3 separate regions of the Homo sapiens genome follow, and all the other regions are linked to region 2. The links are contacts of gene promoters, found by promoter capture Hi-C in blood cells and fetal thymus (Javierre and others, 2016). All regions are on one chromosome and are shown on one strand. The core of a region is centred on a gene start or on the middle of the fragment in contact, and the rest is flanking DNA. Distances in the headings are between cores, read along the strand shown.

Evidence for each region. Contacts are between HindIII fragments. The CHiCAGO score rates a contact against its expected background, and 5 or more counts as called.
Region 1: a contact is called between a fragment that was not itself captured here and the fragment with the promoter of CACNG3 in region 2, in 7 of 17 cell types (naive CD8 T cells, total CD8 T cells, total CD4 T cells and 4 more). The highest score is 7.7, in naive CD8 T cells.
Region 3: a contact is called between a fragment that was not itself captured here and the fragment with the promoter of CACNG3 in region 2, in 4 of 17 cell types (total CD8 T cells, naive CD8 T cells, naive B cells and 1 more). The highest score is 7.6, in total CD8 T cells.

What each region holds. Positions count from the first base shown.
Region 1 is chr16:23,792,411-23,796,277 of GRCh38, forward strand. No RefSeq gene overlaps it. Among named protein-coding and RNA genes, the nearest start is that of CHP2, 39 kb to the left of the region's middle. The HindIII fragment of the contact is 8,748 bases long and covers 1-3,867 here.
Region 2 is chr16:24,255,056-24,258,810 of GRCh38, forward strand. CACNG3 (calcium voltage-gated channel auxiliary subunit gamma 3) reads left to right here and starts at 1,280. Exons shown (of 4, transcript NM_006539.4): 1 at 1,280-1,910. The coding sequence starts at 1,700. RefSeq lists an enhancer at 1,028-1,755. The HindIII fragment of the contact is 7,529 bases long and covers 1-2,113 here.
Region 3 is chr16:23,768,682-23,772,206 of GRCh38, forward strand. No RefSeq gene overlaps it. Among named protein-coding and RNA genes, the nearest start is that of CHP2, 15 kb to the left of the region's middle. The HindIII fragment of the contact is 4,988 bases long and covers 1-3,525 here.

The sequences.
Region 1 (3,867 bases), core at 1,360-3,859, 460 kb before region 2:
ATGCCCTCCTGCCTGAGTATGGTTAGGTCTCTGACCACTGCCCATGAGTTAGTAAAAACCCAAACACAAAGACTTTTTATTACTGTTCAATCTTTCCATCACTGCTAGGAAACCACCATGCAATTCAGCCCACTGAGCTGATTTGCTTTTACTGTCTTTGATCAGAGTGGCATCTTTCCAAATAAGATGTTGTCTATTCATCTTGGAACTTGGAACTGTCACCCATACTCCATGCAGTTTTTTTGTTTGTTTGTTTGTTTGTTTTGAGACAGGGTCTCACTCTGTCACCCAGGCACCCAGGCTGGAGTGCAGTGGCATGAACACGGCTCATTGCAGCCTTGAACTCCTGGGCTCAAGCGATCCTCCCACCTCAGCCTTCTGAGTAGCTGGGACCACAGGCATGCACTTGGCTAATTTTTAAATTGTTTGTAGAGAGGAGGTCTTACCATGTTGCCCAGGCTGGTCTCCAACTCCTGGGCTCAAGCGATCTTCCTGCTTCAGCCTCCCAAAGTGTTGGGATTACCAGCGTGAGCCACCATGCCCAGCCCCAACCAGCTGTTATTTGAGAACTGTTTGTAGGGCACTATCCAAGTGACAATAGAATCCAGCAACGCCTCCCACAATTCCAAAGTCTATCTGAGGGGAAAAGAGGCTCTCTGCGTGTATTTCTTCCTCGCATTCCCCAGGTAGAATGATCCGCTAAACCATTTCCATTTCATCATGGATCTCTGCTGCACAGTGTCACACTCATTACAGTGTTTCTCTGATGTCACTCCAGTCATCGAGGGTGTTTTCCACCTTCCTGGGATGAATCCTTTGACTTTCTTGTCTGCATTTCCCCATTCTCTTATTAATTAATCTGATTTTTGTTATTGTTGTTGTTGAGACTGAGTCTCTCTCTGTCACCCAGCCTGGAGTGCAGTGTGATCTCAGCTGACTGCAACCTCTGCCTCCCAGGTTCAAGCGATTTTCCTGCATCAGCCTCCTGAGTAGTGGGACTACAGGCATGTGCCACCAAGCCCTGCTAAGTTTTCTTTGTATTTTTAGTAGAGACGGGGTTTCACCATGTTGGCCAGGCTGGTCTTGAACTCCTGACCTCAAATGATTTGCCCACCTAGGCCTCCCAAAGTGCTGGGATTACAGGCATAAGCCACCGTGACTGGCCCAGAAAACATGATAAGGCTTCTTGAACTACCTTTTGATTTTGCAGCAGCAAGGTTATACGGGGCATCCACATTACAGGGGTGCCCTTAACCACAGCATTTACTATGACCTTGGCAATGAGCACATTCAGCTGGTGAATATCGCGATTCTCATAAAGCCAGGCCCACATGACTTGCATATGAAACACATCAGCTGCTTCTTCCGAGATGCACTACTGGATATTTATAGGAGGAGACAGAGTCCCCCTTCTCAGGGAGAACAGATCTTACAGTGGCTTTTTTTTTTCTTTTTGAGATAGGGTCTCACTCTGTCACCAAAGCTGGTTGCAGTGGCGTGATCTTGGCATACTGTAACCTCCGCCTCCTAGGCTCAAGTGATCCTTGCACTTCAGCCTCCCAAATAGCTTGGACTTCAGGTGCACACTACCATGCCTGGTTAATTTTCTTTTTCTTTTGGAAGGGATGGAGTCTGGCCACGTTGCCCAGGCTGGTCTCAAACTCCTGATCTCAAGCAATCCACCCACCTCTGCCTCCCGAAGTGCTGGGAGTACAGGCATGAGGCACAATATCCAGCCTATAGTGGCTTTTATCCAGTCCACCAGGCTGGCTGTTCTCTTGGGAATAACCACCTGTGTGTCTGCCTCCCATATAACCATTTGTGATTATTTTGTAGTGAGCTGTGGGTCAACCCAAACGTGCTCTTTCACTGTAGTATTTAAAACTAAAGACATAGGCCGGGTGCGGTGGCTCATGTCTGTAATCCCAGCACTTTGGGATGGTGAGGTGGGTGGATCACTTGAGGCCAGGACCAGCCTGGCCAACATGGCAAAACCCTGTCTCTACTAAAAATGCAAAAATTACCCGGGCGTGGTGGTGGGCGCCTGTAAACTCAGCTACTTGGAAGGCTGAGGCACGGGAATCGTTTGATCCAGGAGGTAGAGGTGGCAGTGAGCTGAGATCGTGCCACTGTACTCTAAGTATTCTAAGGATTTTAAGAGTTGTATGCCAGGAAATGAGGTCCAAAACCAAATATAATTTTACAATATCACAAGTTGTTTCCAATGGTTGCTTATTAAGAGTAGAGCTGTGATAAACATTCATGTAGAGGTTTTTGTATGAATATAAATTTTTATTTCTCTGGGATGAATATTCAAGAGTGCAATTGCTAGGTTATATAGTAGTTGCATGTTCAGTTTGCATAGATTATGACAATGAGACAGCGAGAGAAGTCTAATGTGGCTGACTCCATCCTCACAGCCTGGATGTCTTTGCCCATTCCTGGGCATAGGCCAAGCTAACCATGGGAGGAGTTTAATTTACAGTTTAACCTTGAAGCAAGGATGGGAATAGTCTTACCTTGAAATGGATCCTTTCCTTGTGCAGGGGCTGAAACTGTCTTTGTAAGATTAATAAAAGACCACAAGATTAGGATTATGGAAGGGGCATAAATTTTAAAATGTAGATATAGTTTTTATAATCCTTTTACTGCTCTGGTATCATGTAACCAGAGGTCACGAGATTTGAGACTTTGCTAATTGCTCCTGTAGATGACAACACTATTTGTAGAATCAATCTAAGGTTGATCTTTTTTTTTTTCTTTTGGGACAGAGTCTCACTGCGTCACCCAGGCTGGAGTGCAGTGGTGCAATCTTGGCTCACTGCAACCTCTGCCTCCCAAGCTCAAGCAATTCTCATGCTTCAGCCTCCCAAGTAGCTGGGACAATAGGCATGTGCCACTGCACCCAGCTATTTTTTGTTTTTGTTTTTGTTTTTAGTAGAGATGGGGTTTCACCATGTTGGTCAGGAAGGTCTTGAACTCCCAGCCTCAAGTGATCAGCCTGCCTCAGCCTTCCAAAATGCTGGAATTACAGGCATGAGCCACTGCATCTGGCCAAGATTGATCTTTTGAGATGTTTTTCAGGCTTTTACATTCTGAGTAAAGAATGGATTGACTCCCACTGAACCCATGACTCATGATTCAATCAGTCCCGTGACCTCCACCCAGAGGCAGACTCAGTGCACGAGGGCCATTTTCCGCACACCTGTGATTGCATTTCCAATCCATCAACAGGACCCATTCCCTAATCCCCCACCCACCAATCTATCCTTGAAAAACCCTAACCTCCGAGCCTTTGGAGAGAATGATTTGAGTGATAACTCCAGTTCTCCCACGTGGCCGGCCTCACATTAATTAAACCCTTTCTTTACTGCAATTTCTTTACTGCAATATCACAGTCTCAGTGAACTGGTTTTGTTTGTGTAGTGCACAGGAAGAACCCAACAGATAATTATGCATGGATACCAAAATTGGGGGATCTCCATTACTTCTGGGCGAGAGGGGGATTTCTTGCTCCCCACTAGGCCTCCATGGATACCTTCCTAGAAAGGGCAGGAATGGCTCCATACTGCTTCCCACATGGCTTTTACTGACATCATGGACCAGGGGTGGGGTGGGGAGATAGGAGAATAGAGGGTTGGGGGGATAGGAAGTTGGGGGATGGGGGGGTTTCTTCTCATGACTGCTGGGAGGCCATAAAAATCCTAACTTTCCACTAGACCTACTATGACCCCACCCAGCAGAGAGGGAGACCTTGCTACTGACTTGTGGAGATAAAAGGCCCAGTTCCCTACCTGCCCTTCTCTGACACCACTTCTAGACATCTCATTACAGCCTAGGGAGTGTGGAATTCTAGACTATTCACTC
Region 2 (3,755 bases), core at 30-2,529:
ATGCTGGTCCTTTGCAATACTGGCTATTTCCAAGGAAGAGAGCTTTCAGGTGTGCAATGCCATTTGCCCTTTGGACTAACAAGCAAAGCAGACCTAACTTCACCTGCTTCATGGTCTCACTTAGATAACAATGTTAACAAATGATATCTCAGAGACCTTTGAACAAAATCTGACATTTTCAGTGACTCTCCCACCATGAATCCATCACCCCCTTCGATGTAGATATGTTAAAATGTATAAAAGGCATATTCAAAGGCCAAAATCTTATAGTCTTTTGCCCAAGGTCCCTAATATGTGTATGACAGAGTCTATGTATATTTAGCTTCTTCCATCTTTTAGGAATACATGATCATGTATATATGAACAGTTCCGGGTCTGATCTGAGCGGGTTGTCTTCGGTGTAAACCAGAGCTCCAGAGAAAGGAGGGTAGACATATTGGTTTGTTTGCTGGGGAACCAAATTGAGACAGACTCTACACAGATGTGATTGTGACAACACTTTTTGCCCGCCTAAGCGAGCCATAGAGCCGTCTCCAGAGCTGCCGGTGCCTTTAAGAAGACTCGGTCTTTCGGGTCTTCTTTTTCCCCAATGGGCTCCAGTGGTGCCCGCAGCAAAAGGCAAACTTGCCTGGCTCATGGGGTGAAAGGGAGGATTGAAGAATGCCGCGTTGGGTGGGTGCTGAGGGAGCGCCAGAGTGCGCTACGGGCTTCGCTCCCCTTCCCCTTTCCTTAACCCTTCCTAGAGCGGAGGAACCGGGTCGTGCTGCAGCGCCCAGGAGCCAGGGCGCTGACTGTCCTCGGCTCCAGAAACTTTGCGCGGAGAGTGGGCTTGACTGGGCAGAGCCGAGCCGGCTGGCTGACCCGGGAAGGAACGGGGGAAGGGCGGGGTGAGGGAAGAAAGACCCTTTAGCACCCCGGGTTTCTAGCCCGGGCGGCGGTGTGCAGCTGCATGAGGGAGCTGTCCCTTCGGCACCACGGACCTTAAAGCCTAGGCGTTAAGACGACGGAGGCGGGGCAACAGGCGGGGAGCTGTCCCTTCAGCACCACGGACCTTGGCGCCCCCAGGGAAACCAGCCGGCCCCCGCCCCAGGACTCTGTCTTTTCTCCAGTTTGAGCGGGGGTGTCGGGAGCAGGCGGAGAGCTTTCCTGCGAGGCTGTGGAAGCAGTGAACACTCTTCTCAGCGGCTCGCCTCCCAGCAGTGCTATTTTTTGCCATCCGCCCTCACCCCCAGCACACGCGCTCGCACACACACGCACGCACGCACACACACACACACACACACTCACACAGAGACCTCTCTGGGTTTCTTTGCCTTGAGTCTCCCGGGGCTGTGAGAAGCCAGGCGCATCTCAAACCGAGCTGGCAGCTCCAGGCTCCGGAGCCATGCCCTGCACGGACCCTCGTCTTTACCACGCTCCTGAGGAATGAAAGGAACCCAGGGACCCTCAGAAGGCAGCAGTGATGCGGACCAACCCCCCGGAGCCTGCACCCTTCCGAGGGCCATAGGCGACCCAGGGAACTGGAGAGAGCTCCAGAAAGGAAATCCCAGCTTTCCCAAAGTCCCTGTGGATGCTGACAAAAGGAGACCTGAATTTTTGGAAGAGCCTGTACTAGGTTACCCGGCTGCAGAGTGATTTTCCCCTCCGGCACTGACTCTCCCCCTCCAACCCCCAGCCGTCCAGAGTACCATGAAGAATTATGAGGATGTGTGACAGAGGTATCCAGATGTTGATCACCACTGTAGGAGCCTTTGCCGCTTTTAGTTTAATGACCATTGCAGTGGGCACGGACTACTGGTTATATTCCAGAGGTGTGTGCAGGACTAAATCTACAAGTGATAATGAAACCAGCAGGAAGAATGAAGAAGTAATGACCCATTCGGGGCTGTGGAGGACCTGCTGCCTAGAAGGTATTTACAATTTCCTCTCAATAGCTCTGAATAATCCAGTTCTGATATTCTGGTGGGTGTTTGGAGGAGATGGAAATGGTGATAAGGAAAGAAGAGAAGTTCAAATTATTGCTGAGAATGTGCAGGTGCCCAGACTCTGTTAACAGCAAGACTGACGCCATGTGGGTTAAAGGGGTTGGGTCTTGTTGATTGTTTTTAGTATAAGCTTCATGAGATGAGATTTTTGTCACACTCTAGGCAGCTTCTGCAGTTTAGAAAAGTCTTCAAATCCAAAATCCCTAGGCATATTGTCAACTGCTTGGATCTCTGGCTTGAGATGGGGTCTTTAACCCTGCTTAAATTGGATTTCGAAGGGAGGGGGAGGGAAGGGAGGAGAAGGGACAAGAGGAAAGAAGTGAGGGGGGAGAGAGAGAGAGAGAGAGAGAGAGAGAGAGAGAGAGAGAGAGAGAGAGAGAGAGAGAGATCCTGACCCGGTCTGGCACATTCTGAGCTATTTCATTATTTCTCAACATAGACTTATCAGTTTCTCCTGAGTTTGCTCTAACTAGATATTGTCATGAACTTCCACTGCCAATCAGTAACAGGGTAACATATGTAAACCCCTACTCCCACCCACACCCTATGCACACATTTTAAGAAAAAATCCTTATTGATACATGTTTTATTAGTTTGGATCACAACAAAACTGAAGTCTTGGTATTTTGTATCCACCTGTCTTCATTCCTAAATCATTCCCAAACCCCTAAAAAGGTATTTCCATGACATTTACAAAAGACTGATTCTCCAAGAATTGCAGTTCGTCATTTCTAGTTCTAAAAATTAGGGAGTAGTTATAACTTATAATGAAGAAGAAAGAGCAATTTAAAAATATAAAGCCCTTTTGTAGCCTATCACACTATTAAACTTGCTTTCACCACACCAGAAGTCACTCTCAGCACCAGTAGGCAATGCTTGGATATCACTGGGAGTAAATAGAAAGATAAGGAAGAAAATCAAAGCTCTTTGGAGCCTATGTGCCTGAGGGAAGTCACTGGATTAGAGGGGCAGTAGGGGTTTTCTTAGGCTTCCGAGAAATCTGTGAAGCTTGTCACAGTGGTGGGCAAGGAAATCTGCGTTTCCTGTGTGGTCCCCTCCCCTGCTTGCCATTGGTTCTTCACACTGCATTTTCACTGGCTGGCATTTGTCAGGGCTTCTTGAGAACTTGCATTTATGTAAATCGCTTGGGAAATCATGCTATGACATCACTTGCCAGTGTAATATTGCATCATTCTCTGGCCTTTTTCCCATGTCCTGACACTTTGAACAACTGCTCTCCTGACCGTAGCGCTACTACAATTGATTCTGTTTCTAACACAAATTTGCAACTGGTGGGAAGCCCAGGTAGGAAAGGGCTACCTTTAATGCAGCAAGGATCATGTGAAGTCAGAAGACCTGGGTAATGCTGCAAAGTATCGCTGTGGCCTTGGTTAAGACATTTACCCTCTCCAACTCTCAGTTTATTCATCTGGGAAATGATACGTTTGGATTAGGTGGTCTTGAATTAACATTATCTAAAGCTTATACTGTATTCAATATACTGACAGAAATTCTAGAATAATTATTTCCTAAACAATGACAAAAGTTGGATATTTGTGAGCATTTGTGATTGGGTATGGTGAAGTCATTTACCTCAGGGAAATTCCATATTTCCCTTTCTTATATTGGCTATAAGGAATTGAATTATCTTTTGTAAAACTGATTTGGTGGATGTTGCGATATCTACATGGTTCTAGAGATGGCATAGAAGTTCTAAGGTTCCTCCAAGCCAAAAATGGCACATATGTATACAGTGCTTTAGCCATTTCC
Region 3 (3,525 bases), core at 511-3,010, 490 kb before region 2:
AGATATGACCTACCAGATTGTTCACTTAGGTCTTGTTTATAACAAACAAAGTGGATCATCAGAGTCATCCAACTGTGCGCCAATATGGGTGGGGCAGCTCTAGGGTGTGCTGTTCTGGTCTCCCTTCAAGAAGGAACTTGCCCTTCGGCTGTGAGGAATGCTGGGAGCTGACAGATTCCAGCTATTTTTATTTTTCTATTTTTGAGGCATGGGCCTTGCTCTGTCACCCAGGCTCAATGCAGCTTTGACCTTCTGGGCTCAAGTGATCCTCCCACCTCAGCCTCCTGAGTAGCTGGGACTACAGGTGTGCACCACTACACTCAGATAATTTACTTTTTTATTTTTAGTAGAGATGACGTCTCACTATGTTGCCCTGGCTGGTGTTGAACTCCTGGGCTCAAGTGACCTTCCCACCTCGGACTCCCAAAGTGCTGGGATTGCAGGTGTGAGCCACTGAACCTGGCCTCTGCCTCACCTGTTAAGCTGAGGTTGTGCTGTTCTCAGGCAGCCCCAGCGAAGGACTGAGCAAGGTACTGGGACTAGTGATTATAGCTCACTGTGGGATTCCTTTGGTGGGAAATCTTTGCTCCAGAACTCCCCACTGGGTTGGATGAACATTTTCCAGATCTGCATCTCGATCTGATATTCTCCCTGGCCAATCCTCCTTCTTCACCATTTTATCTTTCATGGATGTTACTCCCAAATAAACCTGATACTACCGCAGAGAACCCAACTAACACATTGCATTAGCATTCAATTGGAGTTTGATCAGAGGAGCAGAACCACCATGGCTGACATGCAATGAGAGACTTATTACATGTGGGGATTAGTCCTCATGCAACTGTGGGGGCAAGTTATCAGTCAATGTGGGCGGTGGCTCTTCTGAATCTGATGTTGCATCTGAAGTCATCAGGGCCAGCAGCTGGACAGGAAAAAATGTACATGAAGTAGGGGATGCAAAGACCAACAGGAACCTACAAGGACAACGTGGAACCTGAGTCTGTTGCCACCTCCAATCTTGATGATGTGAGTGACTGGCAGGAGGAGCCAGTGCCCATGACAGGCACCTGGTGTAGGGTTTGGAGAAGCTGAAGGAGACCTGGAGGAGCTGGAGGTACCACAGGCCTGGCTGATGCCTCACACCCACAGGTGAAGCATCAGGCTAGCTGCAAATTGTGTAAGTGGCAAGAATGCCATGCACCTGTGCTCAGAGCATAGCAATTGCTGCACCTTCAGTCCTGTCTGCCAAATCTTTTTTTTTTTTTAAGCGACAGAATCTCACTCTGTCACTCAGGCTGGAGTTAAGTGGTGTAATCATAGCTCACAGCAGCCTCAAACCTCTAGACTCAGGTTATCCTCCTGCCTCAGCCTCCCGAGTAACAGGGACCACAGGCCCATGTCACCATGCCTGGCTTATTTATTTATTTATATTTATTTTCTTATTTTTTTTGTAGAGATGGGGGATCTCGTTATGTTGCCCAGGCTGGTCTCGAACTCCTGGGCTCAAGCGATTCTCCAGCCTCAGCCTTCCAAAGTGTTGGGATTACAGGCGTGAGCCACTGCATCCGGCCAGTCTGTCAAATCTTGCATATGTTTTTCTCATGGCCAACAATAACATAGACCATAGAGAAGGGATTTCTTGGAAATATAGTTCCAGTTTTGCTAAGTTAAATAAAATTAAATAAACCTACCACAATAGGATTGGTTAAAATAAAATGATATATTCATAAAATGAAATGGTATTCAGCCATTTAAAACGATGTCATAGATGAATATTATCATTAAGAAAACAATATAAATAGCATAAACTAATTTGCAAACATGCATATAAACATATAAAGAAAAGTATTTTGAGGGGTTATGTTCTAAGATGTTACATTTTTAAGTCAAAACAAGTCAGTCTGGGTCACTTCTCTTCTTTAAACTCTTTTTTTTAGAGACAGGGTCTTACTTTGCTGCCAGGCTGGAGTGCAGTGGCACAATACAGCTCACTGCAGCCTCAACCTCCTGGGCTCAAATAATCTTCCCACCTCAGCCTCCTGAGTATCTGGGACTACAGGTGTGTGTCATCATACTGGGGTTAAGTTTTCTTTTTTTTTTTTTTTTTAGAGATAGGGTCTTGTTGTGTTGCTCGGGTTGGTCTCGACTCCCTGGTCTCAAGTAATCCTCCTGCCTCAACCTTCCTAATCTCCTTTAAATTCTTAAATAGTACTTTGGGAGGCCAAGGTGTGTGGATCACCTGAGGTCAGGAATTTGAGACCAGCCTGACCAACATAGTGAAACTCCGTCTCTACTAAAAATACAAAAATTATCTGGGCGTGGCGGCGGGTGCCTGTAATCCTATTTACTCGGGAGGCCGAGGCAGGAGAATCGCTTGAACCCGGGAGGTGGAGGTTGCAGTGAGCTGAGATCACACCATTGTACTCCATCTCAAAAAAAATTCTTAAACAGTTTTGCACAATTGATCAAATCTAAGTATTTTTATAGCTTCCAGGTCCTCTGCAATGCAGATGACGTATGCGGTCTTTCCAGTTTCATCTCTGACTCCCACGTGCGTGTCATTTCATGTTCTAGGAATGCCAGCTGTTTGAGGTTCTTCCTTTCTATGCTCTGCTGTTTCTCACTGACTTTGGCTTTTCTCTTTGGTTGGACTATCTTTCACCCCAACCTTTGCCTGATTAGTTCCTGCTTATTATTCAATAATAATTTTCTGGTAGTGCTTTATTGAGCCATTTGCAGCTCAATAGTTCCCCAAAGTAATTATTTTGAACATCAAAATAAATTACCTGGGAAACTTACAAAAATACTGATACTTGGGCGTCACTATAGATCTTCTACATTATAATTTCCAGAGACAGGACCTGCAAGTCTGCATATGATTTTGAATATAGACTTGTCTGCATGTGATAGAGATCCAATGGTTGTGTGGTGAATTTCCATAGTTTTATGTTGCCTTGGTACCCATTTTGAATATAAGTTAGACTTTCTCATATCAGACGCAGGGCCCAGTCAACCTTGACACAGTTCTTCACCTCTTCCCAGTTCCTCAATGTGGCTGATCCAGACACCTGCCTTATATCTCCTCCTGGTGTAGATACAACCTACTTGTCTCACCCCACCTAATTGACTCACCCCTCTGGCCCCTACACCTTGCATAGGTTGCACAGATATGCTACAGTGACCACCTCTTAGTCACAGTGTGGCTTTGCAGAGCTCCTGCCTGCTTAGTCTAAACCCACCAATTAGAACTTCTCTTGGGAAATCTGCTGGGGTAATACCCAAGACGTATTTTTTTTTTTTGAGATAGAGTTTCACTCTTTTGCCCAGGCTGGAGTGCAATGGCATGATCTAAGCTCACCACAACCTCTGCCTTCTGGTTTTAAGCAATTCTCCTGCCTCAGCCTCCCGAGTAGCTGGGATTACAGGCACCCGCCACCATGCCCAGCTAATTTTTGTATTTTTAGCAGAGACGGGGTTTCCCCATGTTGGCCAGGCTGGTCTCAAACTCCTGACCTCGTGATCTGC